4 separate regions of the Homo sapiens genome follow, and regions 1, 3 and 4 are each linked to region 2. The links are contacts of gene promoters, found by promoter capture Hi-C in blood cells and fetal thymus (Javierre and others, 2016). All regions are on one chromosome and are shown on one strand. Each heading gives the region's core, a stretch centred on a gene start or on the middle of the fragment in contact. The rest is flanking DNA. Distances are from core to core; before and after follow the strand shown. Region 1 overlaps SYT1 (synaptotagmin 1). Region 2 holds the start of PAWR (pro-apoptotic WT1 regulator). Region 3 overlaps SYT1 (synaptotagmin 1). Region 4 overlaps OTOGL (otogelin like).

Evidence for each region. The method cuts DNA at HindIII sites, captures the fragments that hold promoters and counts their contacts. A CHiCAGO score of 5 or more calls a contact.
Region 1: a fragment that was not itself captured here is called in contact with the fragment with the promoter of PAWR in region 2 in 1 of 17 cell types (endothelial precursors); the score reaches 6.0 in endothelial precursors.
Region 3: a contact is called between a fragment that was not itself captured here and the fragment with the promoter of PAWR in region 2, in 1 of 17 cell types (endothelial precursors). The highest score is 7.3, in endothelial precursors.
Region 4: a fragment that was not itself captured here is called in contact with the fragment with the promoter of PAWR in region 2 in 2 of 17 cell types (megakaryocytes and endothelial precursors); the score reaches 12.5 in megakaryocytes.

What each region holds. Positions count from the first base shown.
Region 1 is chr12:79,423,109-79,425,808 of GRCh38, reverse strand. All of the region lies in intron 9 of SYT1 (synaptotagmin 1), which reads right to left. Among named protein-coding and RNA genes, the nearest start is that of MIR1252, 5.2 kb to the right of the region's middle. The HindIII fragment of the contact is 8,979 bases long and covers 1-2,700 here.
Region 2 is chr12:79,689,549-79,692,254 of GRCh38, reverse strand. PAWR (pro-apoptotic WT1 regulator) reads left to right here and starts at 1,291. Exons shown (of 7, transcript NM_002583.4): 1 at 1,291-1,383; 2 at 1,864-2,526. The coding sequence starts at 2,011. It overlaps PPP1R12A-AS2 (PPP1R12A antisense RNA 2), which reads right to left and starts at 2,223. Exons shown (of 7, transcript NR_187531.1): 1 at 1,859-2,223. RefSeq lists silencers at 994-1,293, 2,064-2,583. The HindIII fragment of the contact is 6,027 bases long and covers 1-2,706 here.
Region 3 is chr12:79,402,108-79,404,874 of GRCh38, reverse strand. The region is part of intron 9 of SYT1 (synaptotagmin 1); the gene reads right to left. Among named protein-coding and RNA genes, the nearest start is that of MIR1252, 16 kb to the left of the region's middle. The HindIII fragment of the contact is 2,281 bases long and covers 236-2,516 here.
Region 4 is chr12:80,181,957-80,184,656 of GRCh38, reverse strand. All of the region lies in intron 1 of OTOGL (otogelin like), which reads right to left. Among named protein-coding and RNA genes, the nearest start is that of OTOGL, 84 kb to the right of the region's middle. The HindIII fragment of the contact is 8,486 bases long and covers 1-2,700 here.

The DNA of each region.
Region 1 (2,700 bases), core at 144-2,643, 270 kb after region 2:
TACAACTGTGTTAGATGGACAGAAGTCAACATTTTACACTGACTGTGTAGTTGACTACTTAAATATATTGTGCTAGACTCTTTGGAGTTAAAATTTAAGTAAGAACTTGTTAATTAAAATGTCAATGTACTTCTAAAAAATATTGAAAGAGAAGGAGTTATATTTAGTTGAAGAAAATTTTTTCACACTAAGATTTTTATTGGGATTTACATAGCATTCAGACCAGCCTAAGAATATTAGTGAGGTGATTAATATGAATTTGATATTTGCCCTCAGTTCAGAGCAATGTGATTTTGGGCATAAGGACAAGTCTATGGTATAGAAATTGAAAATGGGGCCAAAATTAGTTAATTGACTTAAACCCAAAATGTTCTGTGGAAAACAGACTGCCTGTACATGGTTTAAAAAATGGAGATTCCTAGACTGGAAGGCCATTGTGAACATGAACAGACAAAAATGGAGTTTATCTGGTTAAAGAACTTTTGAAACTTTTGAGGTTATATGAGGGGTCAGGTTTATTAAACATCGATTATCCAGCACTTTGCTAGATGATATGAAATAACAGCAGAAAATATGAACATTCCTGCCATTACCTTAGAAGAAGTGACAGTGGGTGGAAGGATGAGAGTAGAAAAAGGAGTGTGCCTGAAAATACAATAAGAACAAATATAAAAATGCCATAATACACGACCTTCATAGACTGGAAGGAAAATATTAGATCTGTTTGACCTCTTTGGGGTAACATTTGGCTTATATTGTTATTTGCTGCTTCTATGAACATAATAAAGGTTTAATTTTTATCACTGAAATTTTTACAAGTGCAAATTAAATGTCTCAAAAAAAAAAAAAAAAAAAGAAGAAGAAAAATCAAAAGCAAAACAAAACCAAAAAGGGCAGCAGCTGAAAATCAGTCTTTCCTATAAGGAGCAGGGCAATGATTAATGGATAACAAATTTAAAAACTTAAAAAAAAAACAAAACACTAGGTCTGCATACAATCACACACAAAACTATTTTATAGAAAAATGGGAGACCAAACAGAAGTTAAGAGAATATTTCATGACATAATTTTGAGAAAATCAAAATAGTCATCAAGTAGTCATAGTGTGTTTAGGAACTATTAATGGCCAATCAGTTTGTAAAAACCAGTCTTTACCAACCACCTGCCAACCACATTCCAGCAGTCCTTAAAAAGCCTCAAAAAGCAGTGGATGAGCAAGAAAAACTGTACAAATGAAAGAAATGTTAACATTGCTGAGAAATCAATACAGCCATGGCCATGCATTTCAAATTGTAGGAAGAGGACAGATGTCTATATGCTTATGCCTGTTGTTTGTACTACCCTCTCTACTCTTGGCATGCCTAAAGACAACTGGAATTTCACTAAAACCTTTGCAAATACAAATAATGAACAAATCCACACACAGCACACAAACACAATACATCCATGGCATTTGTTTGTAAAGGCACTTTCAGAGAAAGAGCATGATTCATTTGAAAGGCTCTCTCTGTGGTTATTTGTTTTCTGGTGATGCAGAAATTCTTCTAAATAGGTCATCATAATACTGATAATCATCTCCACGGTAACCAGCTTTCAAGGCAACTGGCTGAGGGTTACATTTCTAGATGGGGGAAATTGCATTAGAGGCATGGTAGTGACACAAGAAGCTGTAAGCTAGTGCCATTCGAATTCCCTTATACGTACAGCATTTATCAAATACTCTCTTTATAATCTGAACTAAGTATGACTTGTTTGAGGGACATTTGTAGGTGATGCTTCATCTCATTTTTAGGTAATGCTCCATCTATTAACCTAAATAGAAAAAAGAAATAACCAAATACTTGTTGGTTATTTCAACAAGTATTTGGTTATTTCTTTTTTCTATTTAGGTTAATAGATCCAGGTGCTTAGGCCTTCTAATGCTAACCCAGAGCCGGTATCTTGGGAGATTTCAGGAACAAGTGTTCACTCTCACCTTCCTCTCTCTGCTTGCCTCCATCTGTATAGGTGTTCGGCATATTTAGGAGAGGGACTAGATTTCTGTGGGATTGTGCAATAACATCTCGACCATAACATATCATGAAATTGAAGAATTTTTCTGATAAATGGGTTTCTTAGATCTGAGGCAATCCATTTTGCAGTGTCCAGGGATAAGACTAAGCAATTTCTTAGAACTATTCCACAGTTTAAGTCCTTGAAATGTTTTTTAGCCAAGAGTAAGAGGCTAAGCTGGCAAGGAACCCAACCAAACCACCTCAGCTTTATGTTTTTGTTTTGTTTTGTTGTGTGTATGTGTGTTTGTCTATGTCTTAAAGTACTTACAAAATTCTGAGGGCAGAGCTACTTCACAGCTGTCTTATACTTGCAGACTCTAAGGCTTAATTAGAGTTAAAAGAACTAGTTGAGGCCTCCAGGCTCAGGTGATAGAATGAAAGCAGATTATAGAGTCTCTCTCTTTCTCTTTCTCTCAGAACTAAAAACAAGGGATACCAACAATGAAAACCACTAGCTCCCTCCTTTCTAGTAATAAGTCAGCAATGAAATAAGGAAAAGACTGTAACCTAATAATATGGACATTAAAACAAAACAAAGCATGCATGCACGTGTGCACACATGTGTGGGCGCACAGACACACACACATACAATGCTGGCTCACAAAAGAACAGATCTTGGAGTGGTACAGTGTAGCTTCTAACCCTG
Region 2 (2,706 bases), core at 42-2,541:
GCCAGACCAAAGACCAAAACTGTCTTTCCCTGAGAAATATAGAGCATGTGAATCACTTTCTTCTGTTCCCAGTTCTGTGGCAGGCAAACACTGATTGCTCACTCATCATGTGCTACCTGGGCAAAACAGGAATATTAAGTAGGAAGAAAGGTTTATGTTAGGTAAGAGCGTGACTTAGGGCTCTCCTACTTTTTTACAAAATGGAGACCTGGCATTTGTAGCCTCCCACAATGATGTGCCCTGACATTACTTGGATATAGAAAGGTCAGTCTTAGGTGCGTCAGTGACAGCCCACCCCGCTCTGATCCAGAAATTTCAGATGACTTGCATCAGAGGATAAGCCTCTGGCATGTTAATAATGAAAAAATAGAGACAATCACTGCCCCAGCTCATCTCAAATTAGCATCAGTGCAGCGTTAGTACTTTGGTAGGGAGCTTTGCTGCTAAATTCATTCTCTGTAAAGAGGAGAGGCAGAGACAGGGTTAAGGGGAAAACTCCAAGACTGGAATCGCCAATACAATAAACTGTCGAACTGAGTTTTTTCTCCCGCAACCCTAAGATACTAGTAAGTCCTTCCTCTTAGCCAACCCTTTTCACCAGGGCACCGCAGTTTTCTTAGAAGGAGGGTGCTGGGTTTGTCTCAGGTCTTTCTATTCTCCTGCCCGCTGCCCTAGTACATCTGAAAAGGGAGCAGCGACTAGGAAAAGAGACACGTGGGTATTTTCCCATCCTGTCTAGTCATTCCCTGAATCATCACAAGTTATCGCACTTTTCCCCTTAGCCAGCAGCGTTCGAGACTTTCTCTCAAATAATACGGTCTTGTACTTAAAAGGAAGAGTGGTGGGAGAAGAGAGAGGCGGAGAAGACAAGCAAGAAGGGCGTGGAGTGCCGTTCCCGCCCCGGAGTCGGAGGCGCCGGGAGGCCGGACGCCGCGAAGCTGCTAGCCCAGGAATGTGCCGTCTAACTCGCAGGCCGCGGGCGGAGCGCGGCGGGCGCGCTGTGGTCTGCGGCGGGAGCGGGGCAGAGGACGGCTGGCGCAGGGCAGGCTGCAGCGGCGGGCCGGACGCGACGCCGCGCACCTGAGCGCCGGGGGCGGGGCGTCAGCGGCCACGACCCTTCCCACCGCGCGCCGCGCCCCTCGCGCGCCGCCTCGGCCTTTTCCGCTCGTGCTTCGGCGCCGCTCGGCTCCCTTCCCGCCCCTGGCTCCCTCCCTCCCTCCCTCCCTCCTTCTTCTCCCTCCCTCCTGTCCTGGGATTGCCTGGAGCTCCGCACCGCGAGTTTGCCGCGGCACTTTCCGCGCGGCGGAAGAGCGCGCGCCAGCTTCGGCACACCTGGGAGCCGGATCCCAGCCCTACGCCTCGTCCCCTACAAGCTCCTCCAAGGTAAGGCGCTCGCTCACACCCGGTCCTTTCCACGCTCGGCGGGACAGCTGGGTCCCCGCCTCCTCTGCGAACCGGCTAGGAGCTCCGCGCCTCGCCTTGGGAGTGGGGTTGTAGCTGACGGGGACCTCGGACCGGCGGTGGCTAGAGCGCGGAGCAGGCGATACGACGAGCCGACAGGTGGCGGGTCTAGCCCTAGTATCTCGACCGCCGCCGGCGCGGACCTTGGTGGGGATGGGGCGGGCGGGCCGACTTGGGGGTGGGGTCAGTCCTCTCTCCTCCCTTCTAGGGGCGGCGATCGTCGGGGTCCGTACTGTAGGTGCGTGGGAGAAACTTTGCAGGGTGGGGACCCGGCGGCTGCTGGCCGGTAGTGACTGGTGGGCGCGCTCGAGGACTCCAAGGGGCGCAGCCCGGGGGCAGACCCTTGGGTCGGGCGGGGATCTTACGCTTCCCTTACCCGCCCCCTTTTGTCTTTCACCTCAGCCCCGCCGGCTGCTGTGGGAGCGGCGGCCGTCCCTCTCCTGGAGGTCGTCTCCTGGCATCCTCGGGGCCGCAGGAAGGAAGAGGAGGCAGCGGCCGGAGCCCTGGTGGGCGGCCTGAGGTGAGAGCCCGACCGGCCCCTTTGGGAATATGGCGACCGGTGGCTACCGGACCAGCAGCGGCCTCGGCGGCAGCACCACAGACTTCCTGGAGGAGTGGAAGGCGAAACGCGAGAAGATGCGCGCCAAGCAGAACCCCCCGGGCCCGGCCCCCCCGGGAGGGGGCAGCAGCGACGCCGCTGGGAAGCCCCCCGCGGGGGCTCTGGGCACCCCGGCGGCCGCCGCTGCCAACGAGCTCAACAACAACCTCCCGGGCGGCGCGCCGGCCGCACCTGCCGTCCCCGGTCCCGGGGGCGTGAACTGCGCGGTCGGCTCCGCCATGCTGACGCGGGCGGCCCCCGGCCCGCGGCGGTCGGAGGACGAGCCCCCAGCCGCCTCTGCCTCGGCTGCACCGCCGCCCCAGCGTGACGAGGAGGAGCCGGACGGCGTCCCAGAGAAGGGCAAGAGCTCGGGCCCCAGTGCCAGGAAAGGCAAGGGGCAGATCGAGAAGAGGAAGCTGCGGGAGAAGCGGCGCTCCACCGGCGTGGTCAACATCCCTGCCGCAGAGGTGAGCCGGGCGGGGGCCGCAGCCGGACCGGGCCGGGGCGGGCAGCTGCCTCCCGGTGTCTTCCTCCTGGGAGCTACCCGGGGCGCAGAGTTTACCTCCCCTGGCTCGTACTTGTCCCTTCACCGAGTTAGGCAGGCAGGGGGTGATGGAGTTTTACTCTGAACAAATGCTTCCTGGGAA
Region 3 (2,767 bases), core at 127-2,626, 290 kb after region 2:
TACATCTAGATCCAAGTCCAATAGTCAAATATGCTCCTTGACAATCTTTTTCGTGATAGCTGATATAAAAAATTAGGCTCCGCAAATAAACATTTTTTCCCTAAAGGCCTGGGAAATTCTTGCCATATAATTTACATAAGTAATTATGAGTGTTAGCTCTCGTTGCATTATGCAATCTGATCTAGCATCTTATGTGCTGAAACCTACGCTACGCAAGTCGCAAGTCACGTAAGCTTCCTGGATGTAGGCTTTACCTTTAGTTACATGTACTTGACCACTAAGTAGAATATATGCTCGGATGAAGCTGACTTCTCCAGATAAGTTGGTTGTGTGTATGACTGTTCACAGATCTGACCATCCAGCAAGACTTGGAAATAACTCACAGGTGAATTAAAACTTCTTGCTCCTGTGTACTGTAGTTTCTCAAAGAACATGGGGGAGAGGCTTGTTTAATGCTGGTGTATTTGCAAATGCTACTTTTGTGAGGGTGTGGAAGGTGTTTTGGGACATAATATAAATTACATTCTTGCTCAAAAGTGGCCACTCAGTAGTTCTATTTATAGTTTTTCATTTTTAAGAAGAGGGTAGAATGAATTTTATTAAGTACCACCATTATAATTTAGTCTGCCATTCATGGGAATTACATAAGGTAATGGAGGCTTCCAACCAGACAGACAGCAATTAGACTGCTCTGGTATTTGATATATTAGCTTTATTGGGTACTCACAGTTTTGCTTTTACCCTGTGAAATCTGTACTCAGAGGCCAAGTTTCTTTGCAGTGTTGTGGTGCTTATCCTTGGAGCTCTGGCTTTGTTTTCAATTTATAAGAGTAAAATAGATCCAAGGCTCACTTATAAAATATGACTTATCTTGATATATTTAATGAAAACACACAGATTAAACGATATTTACACCCATGTTTGTTGGAAAACTTCTTAGGTGGCGTCATTCTTTTAATAAAGCAACTTCTAAGAGAGTTGTTTTCAAACTTTAGCCTTCATTGGAACCACCAGGAAGGAAGGTTTATTCACAAATTCCTGGGCCCCACTTACAGACTCAGCAGATTTGGGGTAGGGGCTGAGAATTTGCATTTCTAACCAATTCTCACATGATACTGATACTTCTGGGCCTGGGCCTATACTTTGAGAATCACTGCTTTGAGAAATACATCTGCTATTTATCAACCTCCCCATGTCTCTGTCTCTGTCTCTCTCTCTCTTTCTAATATCTAGATCATAATAAAACCCACTGAGGTATTTTATGGGTGAAATTGTGTCCCCTTAAATTCATATGTTGAAGTTGTAACCCTTAGCACCCCAGAATGAGATTGTATTTGGAGACAATGTCTTTAAAGAAGTAATTAAATTACAATGAGGTCACTAGGTGGGCTTTATCCAATCAGTTAGAAGCCTTAAGAGAAAAAAGACCTCCCCTGAAGAAGAGGGAATTTTGCCAGCAGAGTGCCTTTGGACTGAACATCAAGTATTTCCTGGGTCTCCAGTCTACTGGGCTACTCTGCAAATTTTGGACTTGCCAAACTCTAAAATTGAATGAGCCAGTTCCTTAAGATAAAGCCTCTCTCTCTTTCTCCCTCTCTCCCAACTGCCTCTTCCCCTGACCCCCTCACTATTGGTTCTGTTTCTCTGGGGAATCCTGTATAATAGAAGGTCTTATTCCCATCTGGGTTTTGGCTGAAGCATGAAGATACATCTTTCCTTATGAATGTCTTCCAGAAAATAAAAGCAGTGGGGACCTAACTTAGTAAGTTTGGCTTTTCTCATATACACCCGTCATCTAATGACTTATTATCATTTATTCAGATGTATTAGATATTCATGGTATATGGGGCTATCTTTCCTCCTGAAGAGGACCCAACTGGTTCTTCATTATGGGAACCATGCTTTGAATTGCTTTTGCAATAGGTTTGTTCGTGGTATTATGAAAAATAAAACAAAACAAAAACTAACTGTATCTCTCCAGTATGTAACTGTTAATCTGGACTGTGGTTTAACCAGAAGAGCTGATTCAGGTCCTTAATATGCTGAGGAGTCACATGGAGTTTCCTTGGAGGATTTTAACTAATGAATGCTTTGCAAATATGTCAGTATGGATGGATATGGTGTCTTATTATCCCTATTTCTATTTTTCCCTAAGCCCTGCCTCACACACTGAGGATTTAATGAGCTTTCACAGAGATCTCTACATCAAAACGGCTCTTGAGCAGTCCTCAGCTTTACTGAGCTTGCTCTCTTTTCTTCTTTTGTTGCAGTTTTTTTCCTGCCTCTGGCATCGATGTGATTGAATGTAGGGGGCTATTTAGGTTTGCAGCACAGAGGAAACACCTGCGAAAATCTGTTTCTTAGGCTGCCCATCCAAGAGTGGTATTGTTCAGGCTGCCTTGTGTTAAATTAGCTTGAAGAACAGAAATTAGAGCCTTCAGAATTGATCAATCCTAGATAACTACTGTGAAAAATATTTTATCAAACTTGAAACCCAGATTTTATCTCCCAAAGCTTGAAGCTTTGATTTTGTATTGAGACTGGGAAATTGCACAAGTTTACATGGCAGCACTTACTGGCCACGTGGGACATGGCAGCTTCAGAAAGTAGCCTGCACTTCCAGGCAAGAGAGGAGCTACTGTTCCCTAGAGGTTTGCGTGTAGCATTATGGAAACTTTTTACGGGAGAAATTTCTACTATCTGAGCTTGCGATGGGTGGAGTGTAGACTGACTCAAGCCAAAGGGTCAACTCCTGTCAGAGGATCTG
Region 4 (2,700 bases), core at 161-2,660, 490 kb before region 2:
TGGGCAACAGGGGCCCACTCAGATTATCTCAATTTTAGGAATGCTCATTACTCTCTCCCCTAAATAGGGCCATTATCTTCCTCCTCCCAGCCTTAAGAATCTTCCCTTTCCTAGAAAGTCTAGCTTCAGACTTTAGAAAACAATTTTTGTCTATTAAATTGTCAATGAGGCTAATGAAACCCAGATCTCTAAGACGTAAAACCTTCTCAGTATGGGAGAGAAAAAAATACGTCTTTTACTATCAACTCCTTTACATTAGCTAGAATGAAAAATATTAAGATATATATTATTCTGCCACTTAACTATAGTGGAAAAGGAAAAAATTAAAGTGATGTGTTAACACTAAAAGTGTCTTGTCTTCTTATATAGCCAGAAGTTAAGCCTGGTGTGGCTAATGTGTTTCATCTAGCCTGATAACTCATTGCTTAGTAGAATCTGCCTGAAGCAGAGCATTGAGAAATAGTTTAAGGTCATGACTGGGTTGAACAGAAAAGGGCTTGCCGTTAGTATAGGAAACGGAAATGCAAGGCCACATGCTACATATTTTCCATTCCTAGTTTAAACATAAACTACAGTTTTGCTTACTAAGCAAATTGATCTAGTCTCAAGTACCATAACTATGGGAAAAAGGGACCTATTTGAAGAGAGAACACTCTAATATACATAATAATCACCCATAAAGAGTTTCTATAAAAGAGTCCCACATCCAGATATTATAATTCAACAGCACTAGTAGCCAGGAATATATACTATTAATGAAATGTCCCTAGGGAATCACGATGCCACTTGTCCAATGACTACAATTTGAGAAACACTCCTATGGAGCAAGGGTCCTATTTGTTCATCTCCATCTGCCCTAATGCCTCCCAACAGCCAGCTGAAGACCTCCAACCTGCAGCCCTAACCTCATTCATCCCTCGGCCTATCCTAACCTATTTGGTAGGATGGTGCCAAGCATCAATCTTGATGCTCTAAAGCTCATGGAATCTTACACATTCCTGTGTCTTTTACAACTACCAATGTGTTGGTGACTATGAAGTCTATGGCTTTGGCCCATTCTCTTTCTTGAGCTCCAGATCAACACATTTAATTGCCTATAGGTAAGTCCACAAAGACTACAAACTTAGCATGTCAGAAACTAAATTGAACTCATCATTTCCTAATATACTCCTCCCAAAAACATCCTGATTCTATCTCTATTATCCATTTTAGTAGGTGATAGACGTAATTATCCACCTGATTTCTCAAGACCAAAAGAAACAAAAAGCCAAAAGAACTTGGAGTCATCTTAAGAGTCCTACTACTTCAAATCTTATATCTATTGTTTCAAATCTGAGGAAACATAAATCACAAGCCCTTGAATTATTGCTGCTATTTGCTGAGAGAGAGAGAAAGGGAGTGAGAGAGAGAACATACTACCTCAGTAGGACTGTCATCTCCAATCTAAGCTATTGCAGTAATTACCTAGTTGGTCTCCACAGTTCAGTGATACATGTTTATGCAGTGTGTGCTCTGCACAGTCCCTACACTTGACTGTTGATGAAGGCACCAATTGTATTGTAAGCATTATATATTTTTATAAAAATTTTCTCACTTTTCAGTAAAATGTCTGTTGTAAGGTAATTATTGATATAAACATTTTCCAAAAAATGAAGTAAAAAGTAACTTGAGAGAGGGTACTCTTTTCTAATTTGTACAAAAGTTCCACATGGGCTATCAGCAGCCTTGGGTTTCCCTGATTCTAGACTTTCTCTCTAAGCTATTCATGCATTTCTGCCGTGGTGATCTTTCCAAGTGCAAACTTTATTGTGGTTTTCCTTCAATAAAGTACAAACATCTACATATCTGCTTCAGCCTACCTGCTGATGTGTACTCCCTATGCTTCAGCCATCCTGAGCTTCTTACATTACTCAAATGTATCATTGCACATATTTCACATGTGCAATTCTCTCAGCTATTGATTCCAATCCACTCCATCCCTACTGCATTCTATCTGAAAAATTCATAATCTTCCTTCTAGACCAGCACAAGTGTTTCTTTCTTTGAAGGCTCTCTGCTACCTCCTTCTCTACCCTGGAAAAGCCACCTATTCTCATTTATGCCTTCAACCAACCTCTATGTCAATTGATCACACTGCATTACAATTATTTTTTTAATTCATCTCTTATAGTAAGCCAGGAGCTCCTTGGTTTAGTATAATCATGCACTATTTAACTTTTCATTTCCTATGGTGATGCAAATTGGTATAGATATTTTAAAGGAAACTTATTGGGTCAGTTGGATTTAACTGGCTCTATTGCCTGCTGTCTAGCATGCTGGCAAGTTTTCACTTTGAGCTGTGATGCTTTCTGCTGCATTTGCTGAGTCGTACCAAGCCTCTGTTATAGATTTCACTGACATGAGTAGGAAGTTTTGATAACATTTAGGGGCAAGAATATGTGATTGGAGCTCATTTAAAGTATACGTCTCTTTAATTTTTTTACCCCCTTTTTAAAAATTGCTTTTGAGACAAGGTTTCACTCTGTTGCCCAGACTGGAGTGCAGTGGCGTGATCATGGCTCACTGTAGTCTCAACCTCTGGGCTCAAGCAACCTCCTGAGTAGCTGGGACTACAGGTCTATGCCACCACACCTGGCTACTTGTTTTTTATCTTTTTGTAGAGGCAATGTTTCACTATGTTGCCTAGACTGGTCTTTACCT